Linked DNA regions of Homo sapiens: region 2 is linked to region 1. The links are contacts of gene promoters, found by promoter capture Hi-C in blood cells and fetal thymus (Javierre and others, 2016). All regions are on one chromosome and are shown on one strand. The core of a region is centred on a gene start or on the middle of the fragment in contact, and the rest is flanking DNA. Distances in the headings are between cores, read along the strand shown. Region 1 holds the start of DEFB129 (defensin beta 129). Region 2 has its middle 7.8 kb from the start of DEFB132.

What was found. Contacts are between HindIII fragments. The CHiCAGO score rates a contact against its expected background, and 5 or more counts as called.
Region 2: a fragment that was not itself captured here is called in contact with the fragment with the promoter of DEFB129 in region 1 in 1 of 17 cell types (M2 macrophages); the score reaches 5.1 in M2 macrophages.

The regions. Positions count from the first base shown.
Region 1 is chr20:225,601-229,195 of GRCh38, forward strand. DEFB129 (defensin beta 129) reads left to right here and starts at 1,658. Exons shown (of 2, transcript NM_080831.4): 1 at 1,658-1,746. The coding sequence starts at 1,689. The HindIII fragment of the contact is 3,129 bases long and covers 1-2,962 here.
Region 2 is chr20:263,682-267,357 of GRCh38, forward strand. No RefSeq gene overlaps it. Among named protein-coding and RNA genes, the nearest start is that of DEFB132, 7.8 kb to the left of the region's middle. The HindIII fragment of the contact is 2,347 bases long and covers 820-3,166 here.

The sequences.
Region 1 (3,595 bases), core at 408-2,907:
AGGCGAGGAACCAGGGAAACTCTTGAAACTTGAACAATTAATAATATTCAGAGCCAATGAGCTTCAATATCTGAGTTTCTTAGGAAATGTCCCAAATTAGCAGGGGAAAGCATCTGATTGGTAGGCTTGGTTCTATTGTTACACCTGGATCAATCAGCTACGACCAAGGAATCTGAGCAGTACACTATAAAAATTGCTGCTTTTAATTATTTCAACCATTGTGGAAGATAGTGTGGCAATCCCTCAAAAACCTAAAGTCAGAAATACCATTTGACCTAGCAATCCTATTACTGGGTATATGCCCAAAGGAATATAAATGGTTCTATTATAAAGACACATGCATGCATATGTTCACTGCAGCGCTATTCACAATAACAAAGACATAGAATCAACCCAAATGCCCATCATTTGGCCATTTGGATAAAGAATGGATAAAGAAAATGTGGTACATATATACCACGGAATACTATGCAGCCATAAAAAAGAATGAGATCGTGTCCTTTGCAGGGACATGGATGGAGCTGGAGGCCATTATCCTTAGCAAATGAAGGCAGAAACAGAAAACCAAATACTGCATGTTCTCACTTATAGGTGGGAGCAAAATGATGAGAACACATGGACACACAGAGGGGAACAACACACACTGGAGCTTACTGGAGAGTGGAAGGTGGGAGGAGGGAGAGGATGAGGAAAAATAACTAATGGACACTAGGCTTAATAGCTGGGTGATGAAATAATCTATACAACCAACCCCCATGACACACATTACCTATGTAACAAACCAGCACATCCTGCACATATACCCGCGAAGTTAAAAAAGTTTTTTTTTAGTTGCTACTTTAAAAGGATGTGGGAATCATTGTAAACTCAAAAGTTAAAGATGTGCCAAGAGCTGTCTCCCACGAACTTGTTTAACAAACGTACTGACTTTGTATGTTGATCCAATACCCATGCTGGCCACTGGACATACCAGTACAAACAAGGCAGAATCTTCACTCTCCTCTAGCTCTTCTAATTCTCATGCACTAAGTGCCAACCTTAGCATAACTGGGCTGACAATCAGTGAATCAAATATCTAACTCTTATCCTACTCCAACGTTAAGAAAGAGACATGCGACTGGGTGCGGTGGCTCATGCCTGGAACCCCAGCACTTTGGGAGGCCAAGGTGGGCGGATCACTTGAGGTCAGGAGTTTGAGACCAGCCTGGCCAACATGGTGAAACCCCGTCTCTACTGAAAATACAAAAGTTAGCTGGGCATGGTGGTGCATGCCTGTAGTCCCAGATACTCTACTTGGGAGGCTGAGGCAGGAGGATTGCCTGAACCTGGGAGGCGGAGGTTGCAGTGAGTCGAGATCACGCCACTGCACTCCAGCCTGGGCAACAGAGTGAGACTCCATCTCAAAAAAGCAAAAGAGAGACACATGCAAAGGGCTTGCTCTTTCTTTCTCATCTTACCTATCTTATGTTTTCCTCCAGGATCAAGAGCAAGGAATTTGTTGCATAGAGGTGTTCAAGAAAGGGTGTTTTCAAACAGAGTCAGAAAAAACACAACTATACTGCGAGCAGCATACAAACCTGCTTTGGCTGCACTTCACTGCTCATGGCATAAGGCCACGAAGAGGCCAATAAAGGCTGGAGCTCAGGAGCATCAACCCAGATTCAAGGCTTCCTCTCTGGCACCCAACCATGAAGCTCCTTTTTCCTATCTTTGCCAGCCTCATGCTACAGTACCAGGTGAACACAGGTAATGTGGATTCCCAAGTTTAAGATGGGTAGATGAGAGGAACCAAGGATTTGGCTGCCCATGACAATGGAAACCCAAAGAGAGGAGACTGAAAGATTAGCTGTTCAAAAAGATGGCTAAAGAGCTTACCTATTGTATCAGTCATGCACTGATACATTCTCATAGGCCCCAACTGCCAGATTGTGTCCAGTGGAAACACCCAGGAAGCTACAGAGAAAGCAGGGTATTTTTTGTCTATTCAGAAACTATCCAAAATATAATGCTGCCTTCCTGCCCTGTATATGTCTATCATGCTAAGACTAAGCCCAGGTCTACCTCCTTTTAGCTCTATTTCTATCTTAAAAGCCCTTTTTTTTTAAAAAAAGTCCTGGGGTACTTGTGCAGGATGTGCGGTTTGTTACATAGGTAAATGTGTGTCATGGTTATTTGCTGCACCTACCAACCCATCGCCCAGGTATTAAGCCCAGGATGCATTAGCTATTTTTCCTGATGCTCTCCCTCCACCCAACAGGCCCCAGTGTGTGTTGTTCCCCTTCCTGTGAAACCACCTCTTGAAGCAAAGTTTCCTATCAGTTTGTGCTTGGTGTAGAAAGGAGGAAGTTCTTCCCTCATGCTCAAAAAAAAACCCTTTCAAGATCAAGTAAACAGGCCTGTGTTCTCCATCTTGAATTCTTTCAGGTTTTCCAGAGCCTTTATCGCTTCTCTCAGACTTTGTCTTCCTGAAAACCCCCAAACTACCATAAGGGCATCTAGGAATGCATTATAGCAAAAGGCTAAGCCAGGGGATTAACCATTGTTTTTGGAAAAGAAAGGAGAAGCACTGAGATTTGTTTCAGAATACAAGAATCATCCAGCTATTTGAAAAAATTAGCAAAGGGTTTCGGGGCAGGGAAAGTGGAAGTGTCAAAGATGCTTCTAATGTTTTTATCTTCTAATGTTTTTATCTTGGGACCCTAGGAAAAGGGTAGTACCATAAGCAAGTATGGCTGTGTCATCTTGGGTAAAGTCACTTAACCACTTTGAACTTCAATTTCACATGAGTATAATGGGGTTAATCAATGCAGCTGATTCCAATATAAGAATTTTTCTGTTTCCCGTTTGATGAGAAAACAATGTGGAAATGTATGCAAATATGCTTTGAAAATTAGCAGATGCTACATAAATCTCTTGTAATTTAGGGAAAATCATTGGGTTATTAAGATGAACAAGGGAGAAAAGCTTTCTTGATTCAGAAAAAAGAAACACGAGACATTAGGATGGAAAAGTCATTCAGCAGATAAAGATAAGGTACTAAGCCGAGCAGGAAATTTAGAATTATAGATAACAATACAGAAGTTACCTTGGTGGATATGAGGTTAAGGCTAGGATAATGAATGAGACTTCTGAGAGATAGAGTGTCCAAAGAGGCTAGAAGAGATAGAACACCATGCTTCAGGAATCACAGATCTAGTGATTGTTGAGAAGAGAGAAGTCATGGGCTACTGAGTTTGGTGAAAAGATAAGACTCCTGAAAATTCTATTGATTCTCTTTTGAACTTCTTTCTTAAATTAGTTTTATGATGGACTTGGCTCTCATTGGTATTTCCCAAGATTATGGAGATGGGATAGTGATGTCTGACAAGTACCTAAGATGCTAAGTTGAAGGTCTAAAATTCCATCCTAAAAGCAAATAATTACTCTATCATCTACGTGCCCTTTGCTTCTTAAAGTTACTCAAGGAAGGCAGACTAAACAGGAAATTTACTTTGGATTCAAGAGGGGCATAGAGACGCTCTCAGCCTGCCCATTTGCCTTCATCAACATTCCTAAACACTGGGCTTAAAATGTAGTATGAGTAAACTCTCTCTTA
Region 2 (3,676 bases), core at 743-3,242, 38 kb after region 1:
AAGCTGGTGCAGCAGGAGCTCCCCAGGTGCAACTGCAGCCACTCAAGTCACGGCTGTGAACCCCGGCCTCCCTGTGTTCTTGTGGGTGCTGGGAGCAGGCAGGGGTCCTGCACTTTTGGGTGCAGCTGCAGGCGCCCAAACCATGGCTGCGGAACCAGACATCTCTACACTCTTGAGGGTCAGGGAAGTCCCCACTGCCCTCACAAGCTTAGAAGTGCCTGCTCCCACAGCCTGGCGCCTCCCTGCTGTCGGTGCCCGCTCTAATCTTGGAGCAAAGTTGAGGCCAAGCCCAGGTGCTGTCATAGCCTGTTGGGTGTGCACACGCTTGGGGCAGTGCTGACATACCAGCCCCCTGCCGCCTCGGACCCCTACAGACCTCGGGTGCTGACGAGCATAGGAGGAAAGCCGAGGTGGGGCTGAGGGCAGCTCGGCACCTACAGCCTGGGTGCCATGAATGGCAGTAGGAGTCTTCTCAGTTCTGTCTCCCTCCCTTCAGTGTGGATGAAGGGGTAGAAATGAGGTACAGCATCCTGTCTTTCCCAGGGGTCGTGTTGCATCCTTTAATAGTTTACCACTGACAGCACTACCAACGATTTGGGGATTGTGTCTCGAGGAAGCAATTGACCTAAATTTCATGTATCAATGAAACTGTTTTTCCTTATGGTTTTAATTATTTATTTATTTTATAAAATAAAATAAATAGGCTTTTAATATATAATGAAAGCCTTTTAATGTTAACATGCAAGGACTGAAAGAATACCTGTTGGACTGCAAGATGGCTGCTCCCTCTACCCTCAGCTTCAACTGGCCTGTCAGCCAAGCTTTGATTTCCTAGGCAGAATATAAAAGAATTCCTCTCTGTGGTGGTCCAGGAGACCAAGGGAATTTGGGGAGGTGATAGAACTGCACCCTGATCATGCTGGTGGTGAAAACTCGTGCAACCGTACACCCAAATGTCATCTTTTTTACTGTATGTTAATTTTAGAAATCAGAAAGTAAAAGATGCAATCACAAAAATATCATTTGGTAGGACAAACTTATTCAGTATATGAAGATAATAGAGAACTTTTATACAAAAGTGGCTCTTACAAAATATTAATATAAAATATTAAAATATAAATTCTCAAGAGCTATAACTTAAACTTCTATGTTAATTTAGGTAAGCAATTCTCCTATGAAAAGACTTAACGAATTCTTTCCTTTTCTTTTCCTCTTGTCTTTTCATTTTGCTGCAAGGAGCAGCCTTAAAGCTGACTGAAACAGTTATTGTGACCAGCATGTAATGCTTGAAAAGATGAAAATCCAGCTTTAAATATGCTCAATCTCAATAACTTTTTTGGTTTTTTTTTTTTTTTTTTTTTTTGAGACGGAGTCTTGCCTTGTCACCCAGGCTGGAGTGCAATGGCACGATCTCGGTTCACTGCAACTTTCGACTCCCAGATTCAAATGATTCTCCTGCCTCAGCCTCTTGAGTAGCTGGGATTACAGGCACCGGCCACCATGCCCAGCTATTGTTTGTATTTTTAGTAGAGATGGGGTTTCACCATGTTGGCAAGGCTGGTCTCGAACTCCTGACCTCATTATCTGCCGCCTTGGCCTCCCAAAGTACTGGGATTACAGGTGTGAGCCACCGCGCCTGGCCTCAATAACTTTTTAATAGGTATATGCTTAGTTTATTCATGTTTCTTTGCTAGTTTTTTTTCCCTGCAAAGAAGAAGAAGAAAAATAATTTTAAATCTTATTTGAAGGATGATTGTACACTGTGTTATTGGCCTTGGAAAGGAGAGAAGGAGGAAAAGGAGTAGGAAAAGGGAAAATATCTTAAGAGGTTGTACTGTTAATCTACTTCCAGGCAGATTTTAACCACTAAAGCTAAAATGCTATTATGAAATTGAATATTTCAATTGAATATTGAAAATGGTATAATGATGCCGGGTACGGTGGCTCATGCCTGTAATGGTAGCACTTTGGGAGGCCAAGGTGGGTGCATCACTTGAGGTCAGGAGTTCGAGACTAGCCTGGCCAACATGGTGAAACTCTACCTCTACTAAAAATACCAAAAAAATAGCCGGAAATTGCTTGAACCTGAGAGGCAGAGGTTGCAATGAGCTGAGATCATGCCACTGCACTTCAGCCTGGGCAAGAGAGCAAGACTCCATCTTAAATAAATAAATAAATAAATGAAAATGGTATAGTGGCTTGAAGATGCAGGGGCCCATGAGGAAGAACATGGATGGCCCCTAGAAGCTGAAAGCAGCCCCCAGGTGGCAGCCAGCAAGGAAGTGGGGTCTTCAATTCTACACGTGCAAGGAACTGAATTCTATCAACAACCTGAATGAGCTTGGAAGCTGATTCTTCCCCAGAAGCCGCAGATAAGAGCTCAGCCTGCTAGGGGCTTGAGAAAGGGGAAAGTGACTTTAAAAATGTAACTCGAGGGAGTTCCAAAAGGCTAAGCGATTCGGTGAATCTAATAAACATGTTAAAATGCATAAAGTTCGGGTGTGGGGGAAAGGGAAGGGAGAGCATTAGGACAAATAGGTTCTTTTCTGAGTTCTGGCCAGGAGGCTTCTTGATCAGTTCAAATTGTTACAAAGTTCAGCTGGAGGTTTCCTTCTCCCTGTGGCCGCTCTGGGCCTCTGGCAGCCCTCCTCAAGGAGCAATCCGTTTCCTTCAGAGGGTCTGTGGGTTCTCCTGGCTTCCCTAATGCGTTCCTGCAGTCCTTCTGAAGCAAAACTTAATGATGCGAGCCTCCACACGCTGCTCTGACCGTCCGAGTGGGAGCTGCAATCTAGTCCTGCCTCCCGTCTGTCATGATCCCTGGTGGTTTTTGACTACAGCTCAATTGTTTTAGATTCCATGTGTAAGTGAGAACATGAAGTATTTGTCTTTCTGTGTTTGACTCATTTCACCTAGCAGAATGTGTAATAAACATTAACAAAATGAATGTGTAAAATCAGGTAGTGATCACAGCTACAAAGAAAATAAAACAGAGTGATAGATGGAAAGTGATGGGGAGGAAGAACCTGGTTAGAAATGGTGGTCAGGCAGGACCTCTCTAAGAAGGGAAAAGAGCTGTGACTGCACGATAAGCCGGCCACGTGAAGACCTTGAGGACAACATGCAAAGCTGATGACCCACCGGCCCTGCAAAGACCGGGCGGGAGATAAGCTTGGCTGGCGCGAAGAAAGAAGGCTGGAGGGAGTAGAAATGGGGACAGGAGCTGAACGCTGGGAGAGGGGGCTCAAAGCCAGCTCGCGTAGGCAGGGACTGGGCACTCGCAATGCGCGCAGAACAAAGGCCTCTCTCTCTCTTTCGCCACACTAAGGGCCAACATGGTCATCTCCAGGTGCGGATTCTGCCGTAAAATGCGCCCCTGGCGACTCACGACCAGGACGCATTCCGCACCGCTCCCCCACGCCCCGCAGCCCGCCCTCGAGGCTGATTGATTTGTGCCAGTCTCTACCGCCATCTGCCGGCAGCACTCGGTACACCCGCGCCCTGGAGGTCGCACGCGCTGGCCAAACGGGCGCACCAGACACTTTTCAGGGCCCTGCCAAAGACCTCCCAATGTCTACTGGCGTCCCAGACACAAGAGATCCAGGCCAAGACTCACACTTCACAAGATACACAGACACGGGCCTTAGGGAACAGGAAATTCCATGAAACTTCCATTTAC